Linked DNA regions of Homo sapiens: regions 1, 3 and 4 are each linked to region 2. Evidence: promoter capture Hi-C in 16 types of primary human blood cells and fetal thymus (Javierre and others, 2016). All regions are on one chromosome and are shown on one strand. Each heading gives the region's core, a stretch centred on a gene start or on the middle of the fragment in contact. The rest is flanking DNA. Distances are from core to core; before and after follow the strand shown.

Region 1 (3,404 bases), core at 879-3,378, 2.2 Mb before region 2:
TGAGGATTACAGTCCTCATCTACCAGTGTTTCCCAGACCAGCTCTCTGAGGCTGCAGTGAGAGGCTGGCGAAGCCAAATGAGAGGCTATAAAGAGCTAAACTGCTTTTTTTCCCATTTAACTCGTTTTTTGTTTTTGTGCTTTTTTGTTTACGAAACAAAGTAAACGCTTAAGGAAAATAAATTCAAATAATGCTAAAAGGTAGAAGATGAAAAGCAAAGTTTTCCTTCTCCTCCTCTTCCCTAACTCGTCCCCTTCCTTCTACCATCAGTCTTCCAAGAGGAAGTCCAGGTTAATAAATATCACCCAAGAATTTTCCTAAACGTTATGGGCAAGCATATAGAAAATATGTATGTGTATGTAATTTATTTTCTTTTAAAAGAACGAGATCATACTTTGCATACCATCCAGAACCATGCTATTCTCACTTTCACATGTATTTGGACTTCTTTTCATACTAGTTCATTCATATCCTCCTTATTTTTAAGAGCTGTATGTGGAAGTACATGGATGTACCATAGTTTTAAAATACTGATAACAATGCTGCAGTGAACAAATGCTTAAATGCTCTGTGCACTTGTGAGAATATACCTCTAAGGTAAGTTCTTCAATGCAAAATTGATATTTGTATTTATACCATTTTTGTTTATATAGATAATCACAAACTTTTGGACACATTTTCACTTTTACCAACTGTACCATGAAGTGCCTGAATACCACATTCTAAAAGTTAAAAAGCCACATGTTCTCACTCACATGTGGAAACTAACAAATGCTGCTGTCATCATTATAAGTAGAAAGTAGGACAGAGGCTAATAGAGGCTGGAAAGGTCGGGGGAGTGGAAGATAGGGAGAGATTTGTTAAAGGAGACAAAATTACAGCTAGGTAGGAAGAATAAGTTCTAGTGTTCTACACCATTGCAGGATGACTGTAGTCAACAATAATATATAGTTTCAAATAGCTAGAAGGAAGATGTCGAATGTTCCTAATACAAAGAAACGATAAATGTTTGAGATGATGAATATGCTGATTTACCTGATCCGATTACTATACATTGTATATATCACAACATCACTATGTACCCAATTATTTTGTGTCTATGTACACAATTATTTTGTGACGATTAAAAAAATTAAAAATTAAGTGAAAATATTCAATGATATACAAAAAGAGAATTATATAATTCTCATTCATGAGAATTATATTTAAGATATAAATGTGAGAATTACACAAAGAATGTGGCAATTATATTGTAATAAATACGAAGCCTCACTCTAAAAGAAAAATAAGCTAGCCTTTTGTTTGTTCTTTGCACCTGGGAGAGTTTAAGTCCAAAATCTGAAACATGAATAGAGCGGCTGAGGAGTGGTGGAGAAGGAAGCCTGTGATTGGCAGATCTATCTCCAGTTCCATGGAACTCAGAAGATCCTCTCCTGCACCTTCCCCAGGGAAACCACCAAGCAGGGGAGCAGCCACACATAGGTCCTGGTCTTCATCAGGAGCACCAACTTGTAGAATCCCATAGAAACTTCAAAACACGAGGGCGCTCAGCCAAGGCAAGGTGCCACTGAGAACTTTCTCAAATATAAGTCAGCCTCTGGGGCTGGCTGTGAGTCTGTGAGGCTCAAAAATATGAAATACCGAAAACCCCAAAGTCCATGAAAGCTGCTACTGGGGCTGACGCCTCTGGATACAGGGCCAGATAGAAAGCTGTCTTCCTATGTCCATGCACTGGGGAACTGTGCGGTTTTGTTGGACTGGCTCGCCGTCCACCCTCAGTGCTGCCAAATGGTCACAGTCTGTGACCTACCCTTAGGCTTTTCCTACTACAGACTTCTCCACTTCCTGGGTCTCCTGGATGAGAAGAGCTATATCCAATACGGCTTGAAAAGATATATGGCAAAGGGGAGCAATGTTGTGTCCATGCTTAATGAACAAACAGTCATGACTGTGCCCAACAATTATGTTTTTCAAGCTTCTCTCTCTCTCTCTCTTTAAGTACCATCATTGGCATGTGTTTGGGTTTTAAACCAATCAGCCATTTTTCCTTCCAACAGTACAAAAATGTATTTAACTCTTCCCGTTTTTTTTTCCTGAAGTTTAACAGTAAAACTAATTTCATCTTGGAGGCTTTCTGTTCAGCTCAAAGTGAGATAATTTGTAACAGGTGAAGGAAACACTCAGGCAAATTCCATCATGGTCTTTTCTTTTGCAGAATAGCCCCTATTCCTCCCCCATGAGCATACCAAGCACTGTGACTTCCGGCCCCAGGGAAGCTTTTCTCATGAACTTCCCACACAGCTATCTCATAAGGTCTCACCTGAAACTTGGGACATGTCTTGACCCTCATCAGCATCCATGGTCCTCAGGTTATCTGAGAAAGAGAGGAAGGGATTTTAGTTTAAAGCAAAAATACTAATAAGATATGAGAAAGAGAGAGAGATAAAGAACCCCTATGCTATTTAACAACAAGGTTATCTAGCAAGAATAATGCATTTTCCTCCTCACATACTTGCTGGAGTATCAGACTGGCACAGACCTTGATCCTTTTAAAAACAGCATTACAAAGATTTATAAAAATATCATTACAAGCACAGGAGGACCAAATTTGTTATTTATTGTTAATTTCCTACTGCATAATAACCCAAAATGCAAACTGACTGCAACAAAATTAAGCAGAAAATTAAATGGCCCTGGGTCATTGTAGGCACAGAATTCATTCTCTTGGCTGATCCATAGTTATGTTCTTTCTAATTTACTGAGCATGCATCGATGAACCTTGAGTCAGCTTGGTGACACGCGTACAATCAGCAATCAAAAAACGAAGCAATTTGCTGAAGAATGTCTCATTTACCCAGGCAGGGCTGCATATCTGAGCAGCAACTGCACTACCTCCATCAATAATGAATACACCTCCAGCCTGGCAGATGGGCAATGCGGGCGCTCCTGTCTTTGTCCCTCAATCTTTCTGGGCCCTTGCCTCAGCCTTCACCAGCACTCTTACACGGGGAGAAGTGACGCTCACTACGGCAGCAAAACGAGCCCAGGAGACAGCCCGAGCCTTCCTGTTTTGCTGACAGATGGCTGGCTTCTCAGATCGGTTTAAATTAAAAAAAAAAAAGAAAAGAAAGAAACAACTGGGAAGATGCTGCCCTTCGATGACCATAGTGAATGTTCCACAGAGTGTACTACGAGCCACAAACACCAGGGAGAGAACCCCAGCATCAGTGGAGTAGAAACAAAAAGGTGTTCTGTGTTTTCGCACTTGGGTCCTGGCCTGCCGCTCGGCAGTCTCAGGTGCCCCAAAGTGGATGACAGCTGGCAGCTCCACAGATAAGAAAGCTATGGCCAGCAGAAGGTGACCTCAAGGAAATCTGCTCATTTATGCTCTGGTATATGACTTT
Region 2 (3,436 bases), core at 293-2,792:
AAGGTCAGGGTAGCCTCTGAAAAAAGAAATAATGTAAGAGCAGCTGAGAAATGGGGAAAGCTTGGGCCAAAATGCAGATGGGCAAACAAACTGAAAGGCGGGAGAGACAAAGGCCTGCCCTGGGAATGGCTCAGCAGCGCTTGTAGAAATCCAGAGTAAGACATTCTTTCTATTCAAGGAAGTCACAAAGTTTTTTAAAGACCCGCGGTTACAGCCAATGAATGGAACCAATGGTCTTTTTAACCAGAAGACCCCAGGAAGGCAGAAAATGAGCCAAAGAAAGGCCAGGCAGGGGACAGTGGGGAAAGGAAACAGGGATGGAGAAGCAGAGAGGGAAGTGCAGAGACAGGTCACCCAGGCGCCTGGAAACTGCCTCTATGGCCTTCACGGGAAACGGCCTCTTTCTACTCCGGATCCCAGACTGTGTTTCTTTGAAACTGACCGTCAGAGGAGAGCGGCTGGAGGCGGACAGACGTCTGCAGTGGGAGGCGCTCCAGGCGTTCCAGGCAGTGTCCTGCCGGCGAGTCACCCGCGACCGCGAGTCACCTCACCAAGCCCTGAATTGGGACAGGAGACGAGACGTGTCGACGAGCTGCGGAGTTCCTCGCTTCTCTGGGCCCTGCCAGGTCCAAGAACAGGTTGCCATATAAAAGAATCGTGAAGGGACCCCCTTCCCCATGCAAATTATGTCATATAACGCATATGCCTGTGAAGTTTCTCTGCGGAGCTGCCAGATAACTCGATGACAATATTTTATGCGGTAACATTTTGTTAAATGTTGACTCGATGGCCACTTGACGCCATCTGAACTCTGAAAGCTCGCGTAACAATCATCCTCCAAATGAAATTTTACCCCCTTCTCCCTTTAAAAGGCGGTGGGGACAAAACATCACTTCGTCACTTAAGTCACCATCTCCTTCCTCTTATCTGGGGCTCCCAGCATAGTTCTAGGGGTTCCCGCACTCCCCGCCCGGGTTTGGGCTGCGAGAAGCGCCCGCCTGCGCCCTGCGGGACCTGACCCTGCCGGCTCTGGCTTCACCCTCGCTGCGCCTCGGCCCGGTGGGCTCCCCGCCCAGAGCCCCGCGCGCTCCGTCGCCGGGACGTGGGAGAGGTAGGCACGGGGTGGACCCGAGGAAGCACATCCCGCCCGCGCGCTTCCCCCACGCCCACCTCGCTCCGCACACACCAGCCCCAGAACCTCCCGGCCGCGCGCCCGCCTCCCCGCGCAGCCGCGCCGGGCCGCTCTCTGCTCCTCTGCAGCTCACAGCCAAGGTGCACCAGAGCCTCCGTCACCGCCCCTACAGGTAAATGGGCACGTGGCCAAGGCAGGGGACGGGCTAGACCCCTGGGAAGAGAGAACGGCGGGAGCCGGGCCGCGGGCGACTCACCACTCGGCCTGCGCAGAGAGCCGCTACACCCGCGGCGCCATCCTCGCACTGCGACACCGGCGACAAACGCAATGCTCCAGGGCCGGACGAAGGGACGGCTCTCGGGAGGCTCGCAGACGGCGGGGCGCGGGTCTGTGCGCCGGAGCACTCGAATGAGGGAACCACCTGCGAGGTGAATCTCATATGGAGTCTGCGAGCGGCCCCGCCCTGCCCGGGGGTTACCGCTAGGCTCGGGCCCCGCCTGCCCTGGGCCGGCGAACTCAGCTGACCGCATCCTGGGCCATCCCGCAGACAAGCCCCGCCCGCCCCCACCTTCCTCTGCCCCTCTGGCCCCGCCTCCCCCGCCTTCCTCCTCTCCACCCTCCCGCGAAGGTCCCGGGAGGCTCAGCCCGCAATTGCTTCTCGCCTCTGCAGAGCAGCTGGGCAATTGTAAAGAACCAGCAGCCAGTTCTGTTACTCATTAAACAGCCCCTACTACAGAGGAAATCTTCTTACCCACGTGGTCCTAACCTGGGGCGGAGGAAACCGGGCTAGAAGCGGCTCTAGGACTAACCCAAGGTCACGCCGCCAGGCAGGATCCCCGGTCTGTCTGTCTGGCGGTGGCCCCGCGGCTGGGGCCAGCGGAGAGAAATGACAGCGTGGAACCAGCCCTGGCCCGGTGGTCGGGAATGTGGAGCTGGCACTGTCACTGTGTGTACCCTGGATCTCTCTGGACGGCCTCGGCTTCCCCCCTGGGGAGTTTCTCTGGGACCTTCCTGATCCTGGGAGTTCCCGCTTGCTGGGGCAAAGCCAGGAGCTCGCCCGAGGAGGGGAAGTGACTCATTCACTTCGAGTCGCAGCTAAGTGGCCGAACTGCCTCAAACCGGCGCTGCACTCTGACCCCCAGGGGCCGGACCTGCCTGCCCCCGGCCGGTGCCCACTCTCCGTCTCAGGCGTCTTTCCTGGTCCTCTCCCTGCTTCCCGAACGCGCACTCTGGTGAGAGCACAGAGCCTGGGAAAGAAGACGACCTAGAGGCCCGGGCAGCCCAGCACCTCTGTTACTTGCTTCCTAAAGGGAACTCCAGTTCCTGAGAAAACATGGGGTTGGGCCGGGAGTGGTGGCTCACGCCTGTAATCCCAGCACTTTGGAAGGCCGAGGCGGATGGATCACCTGAGGTCAGGAGTTCGAGACCAGCCTGCCCAACATGGTGAAACCCCGTCACTACTAAAAATACAAAAAATTAGCTGGACGTGGTGTCGCGTGCCTGTAATCCCAGGTACTAGGCAGGCCGAGGCAGGAGAATTGCTTGAACCCAGCGAAGGATGCAGTGAGCCGAGATCGCGCCATTGCACTCCATACTGGGTGACAAGAGTGAAACACACAAACAAATCAAGGAAGGAATTAAGGGTTTTATTGAAAATGAAAGTACGGCCAGGCGCAGTGGCTCACACCTGTAATCCCAGCACTTTGGGAGGCCGAGGCGGGTGGATTACAAAGTCAGGAGTTCAAGACCAGCCTAACCAAGATGGTGAAACCCCGTCTCTACTAAAAGTAAAAAAAAAAAAAAAACAAAAAAAAAAACCTAGCCGGTCACAGTGGCAGGTGCCTGTAATTCCAGCTACTTGGGAGGCTGAGGCAGGAGAACCACTTGAACCTGGGTGGCAGAGGTTGCAGTGAGCTGAGATCATGCCACTGCATTCCAGCCTTGGTGACACAGTGAGACGCCATCTCAAAAAAAAAAGGTAAATGAAAGTACACTCCACAGTGTGGGAGCGGGCCTGAGCGTAGGGGCTCAAAGGCCCCATTCCAGAATTTTGGGGAGTTTCAATGTCCTCCGCTTGGGGCACACACTATGTAAATGAAAGGGATGATGCAAAGTTACAAAGTCATTTACTTGGCCTACGCAGAGGCTATTTCCTGTCATAGCTAAAGTGTGAATCGGCCTTATGTTCCCTGCCTCCAGACCCTATTTTGCTGCCTCAGACTGAAGACTGAAACTGGCCTGGTTAGGAAGTTGCTATTCTCTCTCTCTGAAGGTAGATTAACAACTTAGTTTTAGTTTTGTTAC
Region 3 (3,194 bases), core at 606-3,105, 2.2 Mb before region 2:
AGTAGAAGTTAAAAACTAAAAATTGAAATAAACTGTTAGATGAAGCCTCAATTAGACAAGAGAAATAAGGGTGTTTTCTGAGATCTATTGTACAGTGTGGTGAATATAATTAGTGATAGTGTATTGTACCTTTTCAGAATCACTAAGAGTAAACATTGTCACCACAAAAAAATGAAAAGTATTTGAGGTAATAGATATGTTAATTAGCTTGATTTAATTTTTCTAAATCATATTTATAAATCATTTTATATTTATAAATCATAAACTTTTAAATAAATTTATTAAATCATAATCTCACTTTGTACCCCATAAATATATACAACTGTAATTTGTAAATTTACAATGAAAAGATTGTCTTTAGGTCATGGAGATTGGGGTCTGGTGGTGGGATTCCTAGGACAGATCAGAGGGAAGTCAGCATTGCATATCAATATCAATAGAATTCAAACTATAGAAGGCGTGAGGCCTTTTACTTCATAACCTCAAGAAATACATGCACAGATAACTAATTGTATATGAAAATACATGTATTTAACATTTAACATATGTGTGTTTAACATTCACTAGAATGAGGTTCATAGAAGGAAGAATTGAAAACTGAATGCTCATCCCAAATGAAATAGTATTTGATATATTCCCACAAATGAATATTTTGGAGCTATCAGTAGATGACTTATGTCTATTTTCTAAGATGAAAAGATATCCACTATGCATAGTAGACTGAAAATGAAAATTGCAGGATTGTTTTAAGCATTTTACATATCTCTCATACATAGACCTGAAGGCTATTCACTAAACTATTAACGTTGCCAGCAGGTAAGAGGTTCTTGAGTGATTTATATTTTCTTCTTAATAATTTTCTATATTCCCTGACTGAGCTACATTATCACTTATTACTAATTGTATTATAGGTGTATTAGTCAGTTCTCATGCTGCTAATAAAGATATAACCAAGACTGGGTAATTTATAAAGGAAAGAGGTTTATTTCACTCACAATTCAGCATGGCTGGGGAGGCCTCAGGAAACTTACAATCATGGCAGAAGGGGAAGCAAACAAGTCCGATTTCACATAGCAGCAGGAGAGAGAAGAATGAGCAAACGGGGAAAAGCCAAACCATCAGATATTGTAAGAACTCACTCACTATCATGAGAACAACATGAGGGTAATCACCCCCATAATTAAATTATCTCCCGCCGGGTCCCTCTCACAACATGTGGGGATTATGGGAACTGCAATTCAAGATGAGATTTGGGCAGGGCGGGGCAGGGGGGCGGGCACAGCCAAACTGTATCAACAGGTCTCCAGAGAACAGAACCAATAGAATACATATAGGTGTGGATACTGACATAGATCTATAGAGATTTATTATGAGGTAATTTGTTCACATGATTATGGAGACTGAGAAGTCCTATGATCTGCCATCTGCATGCTGGGGGCTGAGAAAACCTGGTGGTGTAGATTCTATTCCAAGCCTGAAGGCCTGAGAACCAGGAGCACGTCAATATCCGAGGGCAGGAGAGGATGGATGTCCAAGCTTAAGCACCAGTGGGCAGGGCAGGGGATGGGGGGATTGTGGGGAGAGAGAGAGAGAGAGAGAGATGACATATAACATTAATCATTGCAGTAATACTTAATATTATCAATAAGCCTACGTACATTATGAAAATGTAGTTGAGATAACTCACTTGACTTGCTTCATAGAATTAAAAAAGTGTTAATAAGAACTTAAATTTGGTCAAAATTATGTTGGAAACTAATAATTGATTCATTTTTGAAGGGAAAGGAAAATACATAATAAGCAAAGGCTGTTTAGAAAATTGAATTAAATCTAAGAGATAACTGAGTCCAAAAATGTTAGATGCAATTTTAATAGCCATTAACTTTACTGGGAAATTGAAAGACTGGGCTTACTGTAAAACAGTAACTACAAGTCAGACTTATACAAAGTTTAGAAAAACTCATAAATATGATTCCAAAAGCATTTATGATGAAACTATCCTATATCTTGAACCCCAAGCTATAACACATAACTGTGGAGGTCAAATTAAGTTGAAAAAGAAAAATAATGTACATTTGCAGCCAATAAGCCAAATTAAATACTCTCCAAGAACACAGGGTGAAGGTGAGAAACATTACAACATTCTCTCTGCCCCGTATAGAACAAAAGCTTAAAACATGGATTAATTCTACCTTTAGACAATGTAAACACCGATTTCTGAAATAAAATGAACTAGTAAAACTAATTTAAATCATGCCTTTGAAGCATTTATTGTCTCTTTTATTGTGGTAAAATACACATAACATAAAGCTTACCGTCATAACCTTTTTAAAGTATACAATTCAGTGGCATTAAGTACATTCACAATGTTGTGCAACCATCACCACTATTTCCAGAACTTGTTCATTCCAATGCCCATTAAGCAGTCACTCCCATTTTCTGCTGCCCTCAGCCCCTGGCAGCAACTAGTCTGTTTTCTGTCTCTATTAATTTGCCTGTTCTGGATATTTTATACAAATGGGGGCATATACTTTTTGGCCTTTTGTCTGTGGCTTCCTTTATTTAGTATAAGTTTTTGAAATTAACCTATATTGTAGCATGTATCAGTATTCCATTCTGTTTTATAGTGGAGCAATTTCCGCTATATGAATATATCACATTTGGTTTACCCATTCGTCTGTTGATGAATATTTAGGTTGGTTCTACCTTTTGGCTACTGTGAACAGAGCTGTTATAAACATTCATGTACAAGTTTTTGCTCAAACACCTGTTTTGAATTCTTTTGGGTATATACCTAGGAGTGGAATTGCAGGACCACATTGTAATTCATTTTAATTCCTTCCAGCAATATATGAATATTCTGATTTCTCCACATCCTTACCAACACCCATTATTTTCTTTTTTTTTTTGAATTATAACCATTCTAGTGACTGTAAAGTGGTTTTAATTTGCATTTTCCTAATAACTAATGTCATGGAGGATCTTTTAATGTGCTTATTGGCCACTTGTATATCTTGGGAGAAATGATAGGCAAGTCTTTTGCCCATTTTTAAATTGGATTGTCATTTTGTTGTTGAGTTGTAAGTGTTCTTTAATATATTCTGGATATTTTATATCTTCTGAATATGTACTTGGCTTTATACATTCTAGTATAGAGAATCATATCAGATATGTGGTTTGCAAAAGCTTTCTCC
Region 4 (3,374 bases), core at 667-3,166, 2.1 Mb before region 2:
GAGGAAAATAAGATTTAAATTGTATTTCAAAGTCCAAGAACACAACATTTACAGATCATGAGGCTCTGTGTAATAGCCTACCATCTTTGCAGAGTCGTATCAACGCCATGGCCTCAGCTTACTGTGCTGGCCTCAGGGAGGAATAAGAAAGGCCACCATCATGAACTTGCCCCCAGGGAGGAAAGGGCCAGTGGGCAGATTGCAAATTTCATTCATCTCAGTGGCTTTCACTTGCCATCCTTGGACCTTTCTCTGAGAGCAGGACATCCTTGTGGCATGGTTCCCTATTCAAAATTGGTGCCCAGACAAAATGCAACACAGTAGCAACAAGCAAACCTCTGTGGGTGGTGGAGGAATGGTTCTTCAATGGCTGCCTTGGTTATATCCATGACCTTCCCACACGACCAGTAAGCCACACAAAGCCTTCTCCAGGAACCACTTATCTTAGGAGTAATTTTCAAAATTTGGAGCTTATAGGAGTTGCTCCTGAAAGTATCAGGTGACAAGGCAGGCAGAAGAGAGGTTAGTGAAAGGGGTGTGTGCTTAAGGGTTGGGAGGAAGATTCAGTCCCCGGTTCCCCATGTCATCTCTGGGATCTGGACTGGACATAGTCTTTTGGAGCCTTCTAGCCTCAGCCTGACCCCGGGTAGTGATACCAACCGGAAGGACTTGGGTGAGGGAGAAGTGGAAACGAGAAGGATTCACACTGCAATTTCTTGGTGTCCTTCCCACATTGATTATGTGCAAGTATCAGAATGTTAGGGGGAAAATACATATCAGGCAGGGAATTGCACTAATAAATCTCCTAATTCTCTTCCAGCTGTGTAATTTATGACTCTGTTGGTGATGACTTATTGGCTTGCAGGTGATATAATCAAGGACACCCAGAGACTAACAAAGTGAAGGGAAATTACATCTATGGCAACAGCAGAATAAACAGTACAAAATAACAGATTTTGTGAGACTAGGAAAATAAGGCAGCTAAAGAGTGGGGGCAGCCCACTGCATCGAGAAGCAGGCTTCTGTGGCAAGCCTGACTCTGCCCCTTAACCAACTGTGAGGTTTTACTCCAGTGAAGAAAGCTCTCTGGGCTTCAGCTCGGTCAACTGCAGCATGAAGAGGACAACACTAACCTCTTAGGGGCACTCTGGGGATTAGAGGAGACTTCAATGAATATGAAAACAGCTAGCAAATTGTTAGCACTTAATAGATGCTAAACTAATTTCAGTTGAAATACAGTAATTTAAAGAAATAAAACATTTACAAAATAAGGGCCATGCACATGGGGATTGCAAAGTTTATCCAGTACAGACAGCTGAAAAGATGCTAAGACAGAGGTTCCCAATGGTGCTGCACACTGACATCTCAGAGGCATCTTGAAAGGTACCAATGCCTGGCTCCCACTCCCACATTTTTTTTTTTTTTAGATGGAATCTCGCTGTATTGCCCAGGCTGGAGTACAGTGGCACAATCTCGGCTCACTGCAACTTCCACCTCCTGGGTTCAAGTGGTTCTCCTGCCTCAGCCTCCTGAGTAGCTGCTATTACAGGTGTGCACCACCATGCCCAGCTAACTTTTGTATTTTTAGTAGAGTCGGGGTTTCACCCTGTTGGTCAGGCTGGTCTTGAACTCCTGACCTTGTGATCCACCCGCCTCGGCCTCCCAAAGTGCTGGGATTACAGACGTGAGCCACCGTGCCCGGCCCAGCCCCATATTTTAATGTAACTAGTAAGTGGTGTAGCCTGAGCACTGGGACTTTTGACAGCTCTCCAGATGATTCTCCTGTGCTGCTAAGTTCAGGAGCCTCTGTTTTACAGCCACATTGTCAAGCTTGCTGGAGGGACCTAGGTGAGTGAACTGAAGCTGCTGAATTCTAGGCAGTGCCCTGCAGGATTTTTTGGAATTTTGTTGGAAAAGTGCAGCTGTAAGTTAGAGAGGTAACCCAGAATGAGGCAAAGTTATTCATGCGTGTGTCTCTCCCCCAACCATTCATTAAAGCTTCCATGCATGTTACAAAGGAAATCCCCTCCATCTGTGTGAAAGGTTTTTTCCACTGCCTTTGAAAACACCTGCAGAATTAAAATGCCTCTAAAGTCATATCCTGCCATCAGAGCAGTTAAGAAGTCAGAGGGATGGACGCAGGCCATCTGTCAATCACATGAAAGGCTTGATAAAAAACATTGCACAGCCTCTGTGCCTCTGTGGCATGCATGTTATTGATGCTAAATGGTATCATATGTTACATTGTCTTAATGCTATTAGATTACATCATATTTAATAATAACATTTCATGGAAGATTAGACTGATTAGCTGCTCAGTCTTGGGAATGAATTCAGTTGCATAATAAATTGCCAAATATTTGAAAACGAAAGTCCTCACCCACACTGCTTCTAAATCTACTCCATTTAACCCTGGCACATATGGCCATAACAAGGGGAATTTTGCCATCTTAAGTGCAACACAGCGACCTTATATTAAGAGGAGAATACTCTCTGGGGAACACTTTAGACTGCTGCTGATAGGAGATATTATTTTTCAGCTGGAGGGAACAAAGCTATTAAAGATACTGAAACATACAAGCCGGGAAATGGATTTCCAGGTTAGTCGCATGTTCAAAGAATTCCACTCCCCATTTGAGGAAAGTAGAGAGACGCAGAGACCCACTTAAAAATAAGAAGTCTTCATTTTTGCCTTTGCTCCACAGCTTCTAGTCCTTTAAATACCTTATTTTGTACTCCCTAGTTCCAAATAAGCCAGGATTTTGTTCACTAATTGATAAATTTGAATATATTATTGCCCAAGTCTACAATGAATTGGTTCTCAACCAAACATGATAAAATAGAAATTAAGTAATTTAAGAAAATCAAGAAGTTTAGTAACTCAGAAGAAGGGAGCACAGATGGTATATAAGTTAAATATGAGAGGAAAAATGTGGAGAAAACCATGTTATACGTAGAATATATGTATTGTATATGTGCATAAAATTTAGGCATGCATAGAAATTCTCACTCTACACTGTAAACATGACTAATAGTCATTGAGTATGTTCTATATTCCAGGCACCCTTTTAAATGCTTGATGTAAATTGACTGTTTAATTCTCACAACAATCTTGTGTCATAGGTCCTATGATCATGTCCATTTTATAGATGGAGAAACTGACACAGAGAAAGTCTAAGTATCATGGCCAGCACCAACCAAGCTGGCAAGTGGTAGAACTGGACCTCAGTGCAACTGAACTGAATAGGAAGGACCATTGGCATTACTCCCAGCCCAGCCAGGAGAGCCTCATTAGCTCACAGTGGGCTGCAATTATACAGGGTGGGGTGTAAGTGCAGGTTCAAATCAATGTGATAGTCTTTTATTTAGAGCCA

The links. Contacts are between HindIII fragments. The CHiCAGO score rates a contact against its expected background, and 5 or more counts as called.
Region 1: a contact is called between a fragment that was not itself captured here and the fragment with the promoter of UPP1 in region 2, in 2 of 17 cell types (total CD8 T cells and non-activated CD4 T cells). The highest score is 7.9, in total CD8 T cells.
Region 3: a contact is called between a fragment that was not itself captured here and the fragment with the promoter of UPP1 in region 2, in 1 of 17 cell types (activated CD4 T cells). The highest score is 6.0, in activated CD4 T cells.
Region 4: a fragment that was not itself captured here is called in contact with the fragment with the promoter of UPP1 in region 2 in 1 of 17 cell types (non-activated CD4 T cells); the score reaches 5.6 in non-activated CD4 T cells.

The regions. Positions count from the first base shown.
Region 1 is chr7:50,318,018-50,321,421 of GRCh38, reverse strand. It overlaps IKZF1 (IKAROS family zinc finger 1), which reads right to left. Exons shown (of 8, transcript NM_006060.6): 2 at 2,321-2,374. The coding sequence starts at 2,360. Among named protein-coding and RNA genes, the nearest start is that of IKZF1, 15 kb to the right of the region's middle. RefSeq lists enhancers at 2,607-2,718, 2,967-3,016, 3,027-3,096. The HindIII fragment of the contact is 301 bases long and covers 1,978-2,278 here.
Region 2 is chr7:48,087,371-48,090,806 of GRCh38, reverse strand. It overlaps UPP1 (uridine phosphorylase 1), which reads right to left and starts at 1,542. Exons shown (of 9, transcript NM_003364.4): 1 at 1,389-1,542; 2 at 443-619. RefSeq lists silencers at 978-1,167, 1,508-1,847 and enhancers at 948-1,477, 1,988-2,197, 2,010-2,539. The HindIII fragment of the contact is 3,480 bases long and covers 63-3,436 here.
Region 3 is chr7:50,288,416-50,291,609 of GRCh38, reverse strand. No RefSeq gene overlaps it. Among named protein-coding and RNA genes, the nearest start is that of IKZF1, 15 kb to the left of the region's middle. The HindIII fragment of the contact is 633 bases long and covers 1,539-2,171 here.
Region 4 is chr7:50,147,195-50,150,568 of GRCh38, reverse strand. All of the region lies in intron 7 of SPMIP7 (sperm microtubule inner protein 7), which reads right to left. Among named protein-coding and RNA genes, the nearest start is that of SPMIP7, 53 kb to the right of the region's middle. The HindIII fragment of the contact is 168 bases long and covers 1,833-2,000 here.